2 separate regions of the Homo sapiens genome follow, and region 2 is linked to region 1. The links are contacts of gene promoters, found by promoter capture Hi-C in blood cells and fetal thymus (Javierre and others, 2016). All regions are on one chromosome and are shown on one strand. Each heading gives the region's core, a stretch centred on a gene start or on the middle of the fragment in contact. The rest is flanking DNA. Distances are from core to core; before and after follow the strand shown.

The links. The method cuts DNA at HindIII sites, captures the fragments that hold promoters and counts their contacts. A CHiCAGO score of 5 or more calls a contact.
Region 2: a contact is called between the fragment with the promoter of THEM5 here and a fragment that was not itself captured in region 1, in 1 of 17 cell types (erythroblasts). The highest score is 5.8, in erythroblasts.

What each region holds. Positions count from the first base shown.
Region 1 is chr1:151,312,108-151,317,756 of GRCh38, reverse strand. PI4KB (phosphatidylinositol 4-kinase beta) reads left to right here. Exons shown (of 12, transcript NM_001369623.2): 2 at 1,248-2,184. The coding sequence starts at 1,276. Among named protein-coding and RNA genes, the nearest start is that of PI4KB, 12 kb to the left of the region's middle. The HindIII fragment of the contact is 375 bases long and covers 1,083-1,457 here.
Region 2 is chr1:151,852,187-151,857,167 of GRCh38, reverse strand. THEM5 (thioesterase superfamily member 5) reads left to right here and starts at 3,456. Exons shown (of 6, transcript NM_182578.4): 1 at 3,456-3,725; 2 at 4,709-4,910. The coding sequence starts at 3,603. The HindIII fragment of the contact is 9,012 bases long and covers 1-4,981 here.

The DNA.
Region 1 (5,649 bases), core at 21-2,520:
CTAAAGTGGAAAATAAAAAGGTTATAGCAGGCATTTAAAGGGAGACAGGAAGAGCAAGTGGATAGAAAAGTATTTGAAGAGTTAGGGAACAAGGGAGTAACACCTGACTTGCTTCTCAGTCTACCCGAAGAATCTGTAAATCACCAGGCATGGTGGCTCATGCCTGTAATTCCAACACTTTACGAGGCTGAGGAGGGAGGATTGCTTGAGCTCAGTTCAAGACCAGGCTGGGCAACATGGTGAGACCTTGTCTCTACAGAAAAATTTAAAAAATTAACCAGGCATGGAGGCACATGCGTGTAGTCCTGGATACTTGGGAAGCTGAGGTAGGAGGATTGCTTGAGCCCAGAAAATCAAGGCTACAGTGAGTTCTGATCGCGCCACTGCACTCCAGCCTGGGCAACAGAGCAAGACCCTGTCTCAAAAATAATAAGATTAAAAATTTAAAAATAAGCCAGGCATGGTGGTGTGCACCTGTGGTCCCAGCTACTTGGGAGGCTGAGGTGGGAGGCTTGCTTGAGCCCAGGAGGTCAAGGTTGCAATGAGCCCAGATTGTTCAACTGCACTTCAGCCTGGGTAACAGAGCAAGACCTTGTCTCAAAAAAAAAAAAAAAAAAGAATTTGTAAATGTAGGCCAGGTGCAGTGGCTCACGCCTGTAATCCCAGCACTTTGGGAGGCCGAGGTGGGTGGATCATGAGGTTGGGAGATGGAGACCATCCTGGCTAACATGGTGAAACCGTGTGTCTACTAAAAATACAAAACAAAATTAGCTGGACGTTGTGGTGGGCGCCTATAGTCCCAGCTACTTGGGAGGCTGAGGCAGGAGAATGGTGTGAACCCGGGAGGCGGAACTTACAGTGAGCTGAGATTGCGCCACTGCACTCCAGCCTGGGTGACAGAGCGAGACTCCGTCTCAACAACAACAACAACAACAACAACAAAAAGAATTTGTAAATCTATATAAATACAACATATACAAAACAACATTTCACATATATAAGCTAAGAACAGAGGCTAAGCTGAGTAACTACAGGAGGAATGACGAGTAATGTAATCAGAAGTGGAGGTAGTCAGGAAAGCTTCCTAGGATATGTCTTCTTATCTGATTTTGAAGGAGTCCAGGAAGACAAAAAGAGGAGGTGCCTGGGAAGGTGTCATAGCAAAGGGAAGATCTGAGGATGGCACCACTAACCAATGTGTGTATGTGTCTCCCTTTCTGTTCTTTTCTCCCTCCCTCTTCCTGTAGCTTGGAAGCTCGAAGTCTGGCTGTGGCCATGGGAGATACAGTAGTGGAGCCTGCCCCCTTGAAGCCAACTTCTGAGCCCACTTCTGGCCCACCAGGGAATAATGGGGGGTCCCTGCTAAGTGTCATCACGGAGGGGGTCGGGGAACTATCAGTGATTGACCCTGAGGTGGCCCAGAAGGCCTGCCAGGAGGTGTTGGAGAAAGTCAAGCTTTTGCATGGAGGCGTGGCAGTCTCTAGCAGAGGCACCCCACTGGAGTTGGTCAATGGGGATGGTGTGGACAGTGAGATCCGTTGCCTAGATGATCCACCTGCCCAGATCAGGGAGGAGGAAGATGAGATGGGGGCCGCTGTGGCCTCAGGCACAGCCAAAGGAGCAAGAAGACGGCGGCAGAACAACTCAGCTAAACAGTCTTGGCTGCTGAGGCTGTTTGAGTCAAAACTGTTTGACATCTCCATGGCCATTTCATACCTGTATAACTCCAAGGAGCCTGGAGTACAAGCCTACATTGGCAACCGGCTCTTCTGCTTTCGCAACGAGGACGTGGACTTCTATCTGCCCCAGTTGCTTAACATGTACATCCACATGGATGAGGACGTGGGTGATGCCATTAAGCCCTACATAGTCCACCGTTGCCGCCAGAGCATTAACTTTTCCCTCCAGTGTGCCCTGTTGCTTGGGGCCTATTCTTCAGACATGCACATTTCCACTCAACGACACTCCCGTGGGACCAAGCTACGGAAGCTGATCCTCTCAGATGAGCTAAAGCCAGCTCACAGGAAGAGGGAGCTGCCCTCCTTGAGCCCGGCCCCTGACACAGGGCTGTCTCCCTCCAAAAGGACTCACCAGCGCTCTAAGTCAGATGCCACTGCCAGCATAAGTCTCAGCAGCAACCTGAAACGAACAGCCAGCAACCCTAAAGTGGAGAATGAGGATGAGGTAAAATTCTGGGGAGGGCCAGAGACAAAAGGTGGTAGAGGGCTGCATGGAGACAGGATGCCTCCTATATACACACAGGGTTACGCTGTTCTTTCTGTCCTCCCTGTTTCATTTCACTGATAAAAGCATGGAATGTTAGAATGGAAAGGCCTTAGAATTCATGTATTTTGCCTGCCTTAGTTTACAAAGGAAGAACTCAGACCCAGAGAGATAAAGTGAGTTGCCTCAGGTCATATAGGTCATGGCAAGGCTGACGCTCCTGACTGTGTCCCAAATCATTTTTATTAAACTGCACTGGCCAGGCGCGGTGGCTCACGCTTGTAATCCCAGCACTTTGGGAGGCTGAGGCAGGCAGATCACGAGGTCAGGAGTTTGAGACCAGCCTGGCCAACATGGCAAAATCCCATCTCTACTAAAAATACAAAAATTAGCCAGGCGTGGTGGTGGGCGCGTGTAATCCCAGCTACTTGGGAGGCTGAGACAGGAGAATCACTTGAACCTGGGAGGCAGAGGTTGCAGTGACCAGAGATCGCGCCACTGCACTCCAGCTTGGGCGACAGAGTGAGACTCCGTCTCTAAATAAATAAATAAATAAATAAACTGCCATTCCATTAACATCTACTATGTTAATGAGAACTGTGGCAGAAGCCCTCCACACCCTGACCTGAGACTTGAGATAGCTACCAGAGCCTCTCAGAGCAGCATCTGTGGGAAAGGAAAAGGTACTATTGTCTTTCTGTGTGCTGGGGTAGGGGAGATGTTAGAACATCGGCTTCATTCTCCTGGCCACTCCTCCTCATAATCTAATCCCTTTTCACTACCCTCTGAAGATCCTACCTTTTGTTGACATAAGTGTAAGGTTTATTTCTTATCACTGAGGCATCTGGAGAATGCCTTCATTGCCTGCCTTTCCTTAGGGGGAAGAGTGCCTTGCTGGTATCTTTCCCATACCATTTGGGAGAAGCACAAAGGGAAGAGAAAGCACTCTTAGTATAGAGTAAATATAGTGCCTAGTCAAGGACCTGGAGGCTGGGAAGAAGAGGAAGCTACAGCAGCAGTTGGAGGTATAACTTAGGATATAGAGCAGGGAAGAGGTGGCCACATGAATAGGTTATACCCACTCTTCACTCCACATCTGGACAGATAGCAGGGAAAGCTGCCCAGTGGACTACCAAGTGTCAGTGACCTGGTGTCCCAGCCAGACAATGGTGCTCCAGTCCTCCCCTCTGACTCACCATTGGCCAGGCTCCCATCCTGGCTTCCAACCCAGCCTAGAAAAGAGGGAGAAAAAAAGGAGGAATTTGCACTTTTTGAAAAATGCGGATAGCTATGGTCTTGGCATCTGCCTCTGTGGGGCATATAACCCACCCACGTTTTTGATACAATGGGACTTCTTTCAAATAGAGGGAAGTCAGAGTGACTAGAGAAAAGGAAGAGGGAGGGAGACTATAGAGCCTGCTCTCTGGAAATTTGGAATTTTGTTAGGATAGTTTAATAATGGTAAAGCTAAAAGTGCTAACATTTATTCAGCACTTATGTGCCAGGCATCTTGCCAAGTACTTTACATTTAATCCTCACAACCATGCTGAGAGACAGGTATTATTTTGCCAGCAAGGAAACTGAGGCTTAGAAAGATTAGATGTTTTGCCCAAGGTCCCTCAACTAGTGAATGTCAGACCAGGACTCAAATCTCCAGCTGGTGCTCATAATCATTCAGCTGAACTACCTTGGTTATTTCTCAATATCTACTTCCCAAGGTCCCCAGCTGTCAGAAGCCATGTGGGGAAGAACGGCCCAGGCTATGGCCATCTGAGCTTCCACATCCATGCACAGGCAAAGCCAAAACTGTTGTCAGAACTAGAATGAACCGTTTTCATATCTGGTTGAGCTTGGCAGCAGAGCCCTGGGTCATGAAGAGAAGTTGCTGCAGAACAAGAAGAGTCATCCAGATTCTAGTGGAACATGAAGGGTTGGATAGCTGTCTCATCTTGGAGTCAAACCTGTAGCAGAGGGTGAGCAGCTGGAAGTGAATTCCTTGGTGCCTCTTGTCAGGCTTGGCTTTTCTCTTTATCCATTTTGTAGTGCTCATCTTAGGACCAGAAAAGCTGAGGCCTCAGGGCTTTTCTTACTCTGCTGATCCTTGGTCCCTCTTTCCTTACATCTAACTCCCACTCCAGGATAAGATTATGGATGGCACTGAGAGGCAGGTATTAGGTGAATACTTACATCATTTAGGGTGGGTTCTGTAGCTGCCGTTCTTCCAACCTGACTCCTTATCTTGGGTCACTAGATCCAGGAGAGGAAGGAGATACTATGTTCCCAGGCACTCCTGCGTTATCTGATACTGACAGAATGAAATACCTGAATTCATTATGGCTCCACAGAAAATGGGAGAGCAAGAAAGAGACAGAAACATGAATATCACTAGGTTTCTAAGCATTAGAGTCGTCAGCACAGGGGTCTCTCCCAGCCCTTTTCCTTCCATCCGTCCTTCCTTCCTTCCTTCCTTCCTTCCTTCCGCCCACCCGTCTGTCTGTCCGTCCGCCCTTTTTCTTGCAACAGGGTCTTGCTCTGTTGCCCAGGCTGGCGTGCAGTGGCACAGTCATAGCTCACTGTAGCCTTTAACTCCTGGGCTCAAGCAATCCTCCCATCTTAGCCTCCCAAGTACCTGGGGCTACAGCTATGTACCACCACACCTGGCTAATTTTTAAAAAATTTTTTTGTAAAGATGAGGTCGTGCTCTATTGCCCAAGCTAGTCTCAAACTCCTGGCTTCAAGTCATCCTCTCGCCTCAGCCTCCCAAGTCACTGGGATTACAGGCATGAGTGACTAGACCCAGCCCCTTTGGCATTTTGAGGATGCGTCTGTCAAGGCTTTTGTCCCCTAAATACCAAAGGAATTGGTTTTCCTTTTACTCATCCTTCTTCCCTTTCATGTAACATTCATTCACTCAACATGTAGTTATTGACTTTGTACAATGTCCAAAGCCGTGAGCTGTGCTGTGGAGGACGGGGGATAAAATGTTATCCTTCCCTCTAGGAACATGTGAAGTAATAATGAAAACCCCAGTATCTATGGAACTGTTTAGTTTGTGACTCTCTTGAAAAAGTTGTTTTCTGCCATAAGCAGGAAGTATACAGCTTACTAAAATGAGGCACATAATTATCTAAGACCTAAGCAGAGATACTCTAGGAGAATCTCTAGGTAGACCCTAACACTCTGCTCCCAGTCTCTTGCTTTTCTTTTAGGTTCTGAGTTTAATACTATGCTCCTACCACCAGTAGAGGGGCTCCCAAGGATGAGGTCGGGCCTCAAAGAAGAGGCTCAGGGGCAGCATGTACAGTTCTCTTCCTGCCCATGGTCTCCCTGCAGAGTTGTTCTCTGCTCAGCTCTCACAGTGTTCTCTTTCTTACTATGAGGAATCCTTTACACTCTCTCCCACAGTCAGAAGGCTTTGTGCTGATT
Region 2 (4,981 bases), core at 2,207-4,706, 540 kb before region 1:
TCCTCCTGCCTCAGCCTCCTGAGTAGCTGGGACCGCAGGCACACACCACCACACCCAGCTAATTTTTTTTCTTTTTTGTAGAGTCGGGGTCTCACTATGTTGTCCAGGCTGGTCTCGAACTCCTGGGCTCAAGCGATCCTCCCACCTCAGCCTCCCAAAGTGCTGGACTTACAGGCATGAGCCACTGCACCCAGCCACCTACTGACTCTTTATATTTTCTGAGACAGAGTTTCACTCTTGCTGCCCAGGCTGGAGTGCAATGGCGCAATCTCAGCTCACCACAATATCCGCCTCCTGGCTTCAAACGATTCTCCTGCCTCAGCCTCCCAAGTAGCTAGGATTACAGGCATGCGCCACCATGCCCGGCTAATTCTGTATTTTTAGTAGAGATGAGGTTTCTCCATGTTGGTCAGGCTAGTCTTGATCTCCCAACCTCAGGTGATCCACCCGCCTTGGCCTCCCAAAGTGCTGGGATTATAGGCGTGAGCCACCGCGCCTGGCCCTACTGACTCTTCTTAGGAGGACAGCTCTTTCCTCCTGGGGCCACCTTGCTGGAACCAGCTTCCAGCTGTCAGGGCCGCCTGAGGATCCCCTCTTGCTCCCCACTCACCTTTCCTCTGACTTCTCTCCAGTTCACCTATCCTTCCTAGGATTTTTCTTTTCTATCCTGTCTTCTCAAGTCCATCCTTCCAGATCAAGGATGGACCCAGGGAATGAAGGGATGCCAAGTGCCAGGGGACGCCTGGGCAAGCCACAGGCACAGGGTACCAGCTACAGCTATTGTGGTAAACTCAGGACCAGAGAGACAGATATGGAAAAACAGGACGATGTTTATTTTAAGGTAGGCATTGGCTCAGTGGATTCACATCCAAAAAGCTGAGCATTGAACAAAGACTGAGCAGGATTTTTATAAGCAGGCTTACAGAAGCAAAACAGGCAGTTAATCATATAATGACAGGTCACATAATCTATAGCATAACTGATGACTTGGCATAACTTGTGGCTTTGCATAGCTGGTGGCCTTGTAGCTGCGTGGAAAGAAAAAACAAGAACTGGCTAAATACAGACAGACATTTGTCCTTTTTTTTTTTTCCTTCACCCTTGCTCCAGACGGGGGATGTCTGGAGCCTATTCCTTTGGTTTCGACTTCTCGAAGAGCATTATCTTATAATTGTCTTTGAAGTGAGCTTGCTAGGCAGAGAAAAACTTGCTCTTCCTTTCTTTTTAACCTTTGCCTTGCCACATTCTGGGCCTTGGCTTTTACTTCTCAGACTAGGTCACTATGACCTTCTTATAGCCTTGTCTGTTACTTTTCTTGGAGTGAATGAATGTAGTACTTACTATCTTTTTTTAATTTCTGCCTCACAGCAACGGCTGCGGCCCAGGGCTGAAAATGAGTGCTGCCAGATATTCTCACTTATCTGGGGATGGCAACCAACTCAAATATCTTTGCTTAGACCCAGAGGCTGAATCAACCAAAAAAACTTCCAGCTGGGCGTGGTGCCTCATGCCTGTAATCCCAGCACTTTGGGACGCTGAGGCAGGCAGATCAGCCAAGGCCAGGAGTTTGAGACCAGCCTGGCCAACATGATGAAACCCCGTCTCTACTAAAAATATAAAAACTAGCCGGGCGTAGTAGCAAGCGCCTGTAATCCCAGCTACTTGGGAGGCTGAGGCAGGAGAATTGCTTGAGCCTGGGAGGCAGAGGTTGCAGTGAGCCGAGATGGTGCCACTGCACTCCTGGGCAATAAGAGTGAGACTCTGACAAAATAACAACAACAAAAAAAAATGGTTCCCCCAGTCCTTGAGGAAGTTTAATTCAAACCTTTGCAGGAGGTGAGGGGAAATATTTATATTCTAGTCTTCTTCTAGGGCAACCAAATACAGAGGGTGAACCAAATCTTTTAAATTTCCGCATTAAATCAGTTTCATCTTTTGGAACCTGCCAAAATGTCATAATCATCACAACTATTATTATCGTCATCATCACTGTTATGATTCCACCTTTGCACAGTTCTGATTTTTTTTTTTTTAAGACAAGGTCTCACTCGGCCTCCCAAAATGCTGAGATTACAGCCTTGAGCCACTGCGCGAGGACTGATCTTTAGAACATGCTTTTATTTTAGTCAATTTAAAACTGAGACTTTTAATTGAAAATTGGCAGTTTAAATTCAATAGAAGACACACCACCACCAAATCCCACTGCCTTGCAGATGTTGGCTGAGTGTCCCTTCCCACTCAACAAAGCCTCACTGCCGCGCCCACCTCACTCCCAGCACTGCCTGCTGACATGAGCCACTCCCTGGGCACGGGGTTCCCAAAACATGAGAGTATCCCTGCCAAGCTGTTTCCTCCCAAATTATTTTCTGCCCTCCCTGTCAAGCCCTCCCCCACCTCCAACTCCTATCCCCAGCCAGAGACCAGCAGGTGAAACTCTCCTGTGCTAACCCTTGTCCGGGATATAAGAAGAGGTGTTGGCCGGGTGCGGTGGCTCACGCCTGTAATCCCAGCACTTTGGGAGGTCACCTGAGGTCAGGAGTTCAAGACCAGCCTGGCTAACATGGCAAAACCCCATCTCTACTAAAAAAAATATACAAAATTTAGCTGGGTGTGGTGGTGTGTGTCTGTAATCCCAGCTACTCAGGAGGCTGAGGCAGGAGAATCACTTGAACCCAGGAGGCGGAGGTTGCAGTGAGCCGAGATCACGCCATTGCACACCAGCCTGGGCGACAAGATTGAAACTCCGTCTCACCAAAAAAAAAAAAAAAAAAAAAAAAGAGGTGTCTAAGGCTGTGAGTTGGTTTTCTTTTTTTTTATTTTTTTATTTTTATTTTTTTGAGACGGAGTCTCGCTCAGTCGCCCAGGCTGGAGTGCGGTGGCTAGATCTCAGCTCACTGCAAGCTCCACCTCCCAGGTTCACGCCATTCTCCTGCCTCAGCCCCCTGCGTAGCTGGGACTACCGGCACCCGCCACCACGCCCGGCTAATTTTTTGTATTTTTTTTAGTAGAGACGGGGTTTCACCGTGTTAGCCAGGATGGTCTCGATCTCCTAACCTCGTAATCCGCCGCCTCGGCCTCCCAAAGTGCTGGGATTACAGGCGTGAGCCACCGCACCCGGCCTGTGAGTTGGTTTTCTGAGTCACAAAATCATACCAGAGTTTTCAGAGTCCGGTATACACTGCAGAGCACATACCAAGAACACTCCACCAGCACCCTCCAATCAAGGGACAGGCTTCCCTTATCCTTCTGGAAATATTCTTGGATTCTCCCTCAGAACCCCCAGGCAGCTCTCCAAGGCTCTATATACCCCATACTATTTGTTTATGTACTTGTTTACTCCTTTTGCAACTCAAGCCAGTCCTGCTGCCTTTTCATGCCCAAGCAGCATCTGTCCCTCCCCAAGCACTGGGTGGGGCTCCTAGACCAGCTAAAGGCGCCGAGCATCTGTGGGTGTTGCAGCACACCAGCCCAGCCTCGCCTAGCTCTCTGAAAGAAAGCCTGCAACAGAAGGGAGAGAAGCGGCCCCAAGTGCAGCTGAAAGCACTCCTTGGGAGTCAGCCAAGACCCTCCATCCAAGCAGGGCTGGATCCTTGCACTTGGCCATGATAAGGAGATGCTTCCAGGTGGCAGCAAGACTTGGCCACCACAGAGGCCTTCTTGAGGCCCCCCGTATCCTGCCCAGACTCAACCCTGCCTCAGCATTTGGATCCTCCACAGACTCCATGGTGAGTTCCCAGCTCAGCCAGATGGGCAGTGTTTTCCCAGGAGCCTAGGGCTTAAGGAGCACCCCAAATCTCCTCTTCCCAGCCCATGGCCAGGGCAGGTGGGCAGTGTTCGGAGGAGCTATTTGATTTGGCAAAGAGAAAGTGCTCTGGGATACCAAGTTGCCCCCATTCAAAACTAAAACTACCAGGAGACCTGCATCTGGCTCTGTGTCTTGTGTGGCCACCAACAAATGACTTTCCTCCTGTGGGACTCAGACTACTGCAGCAAAGCTGGGGTATCCCCAGACAGAGGACCCCATCTGTGGCATTGGCAAGCAGCTCACATGCTGTCTACAGTTGTGACTGGTGTATGAGCAGGTGACGCTACAGAGGACTTCCTTACGTCACACAGATGGGCACATAGTCTGTGCCCCAGCCATGGCACCACACCTCTGTGGGGGCCCAAATGTGTTTCAAAGGAGCCACCCTGCCCAGGCAGGCCCACAGCAGTGGGCAGAGCTGGAGTAGCCCCTGAGGTGGGGGTTGCTAGAATGGTCCTCAACAACTGTGACCCTGCCCTGCAGAGGAGACAGCATCTAGTGCGACCACCAGCTCTCACAGTCACATGCTTGGCAACCTTGGCCGTATTCCCTCAGTTTCCCCATCTGTACAGTGAGGCTAATATGAGCAGTTGTCAACTTTAAAGAACTGCTCACATGTTTTAAGCAGAACAAGGGTAAGGCACCACATCGAGCAGCATGCCCATCATCTCTGGCCCCACTCCCTGCCCGCCCTTCCCTTGCTCTTTAGCATCCTTATGCCCCGTCACCCATAGGGGTCCGCAGCCCCCCTGCAAGGAATATGGGCCCTTTCCCTTGGATCGATACTCTGGCAGAAGGGATTGAGAAGCCCCAGCACCCAGGAACAGCTGTTTAGAGGTCCCGAGCCCAGGCAGCAGCCCCCCTCCAGGATGCTGTCTAGTCATTCTGATTTTTCCTGCCCAGTTCTCAAGATTCTTGCCAGAGAAGACAGACTTGAAGGATTATGCTCTTCCCAATGCCAGCTGGTGTTCGGACATGCTGAGCCTGTACCAAGAATTTCTGGAGAAGACTAAGTCTAGCGGCTGGATCAAGCTGCCCTCCTTCAAGTCCAACAGAGACCACATCCGGGGACTCAAGCTCCCATCTGGACTGGCAGTTTCCTCAGGTAAGGACAGGACCATGAGTACACACACCCCAGCCGCCCTTCCCTGTGTTCTAAGACTGAGAAGCAACTTC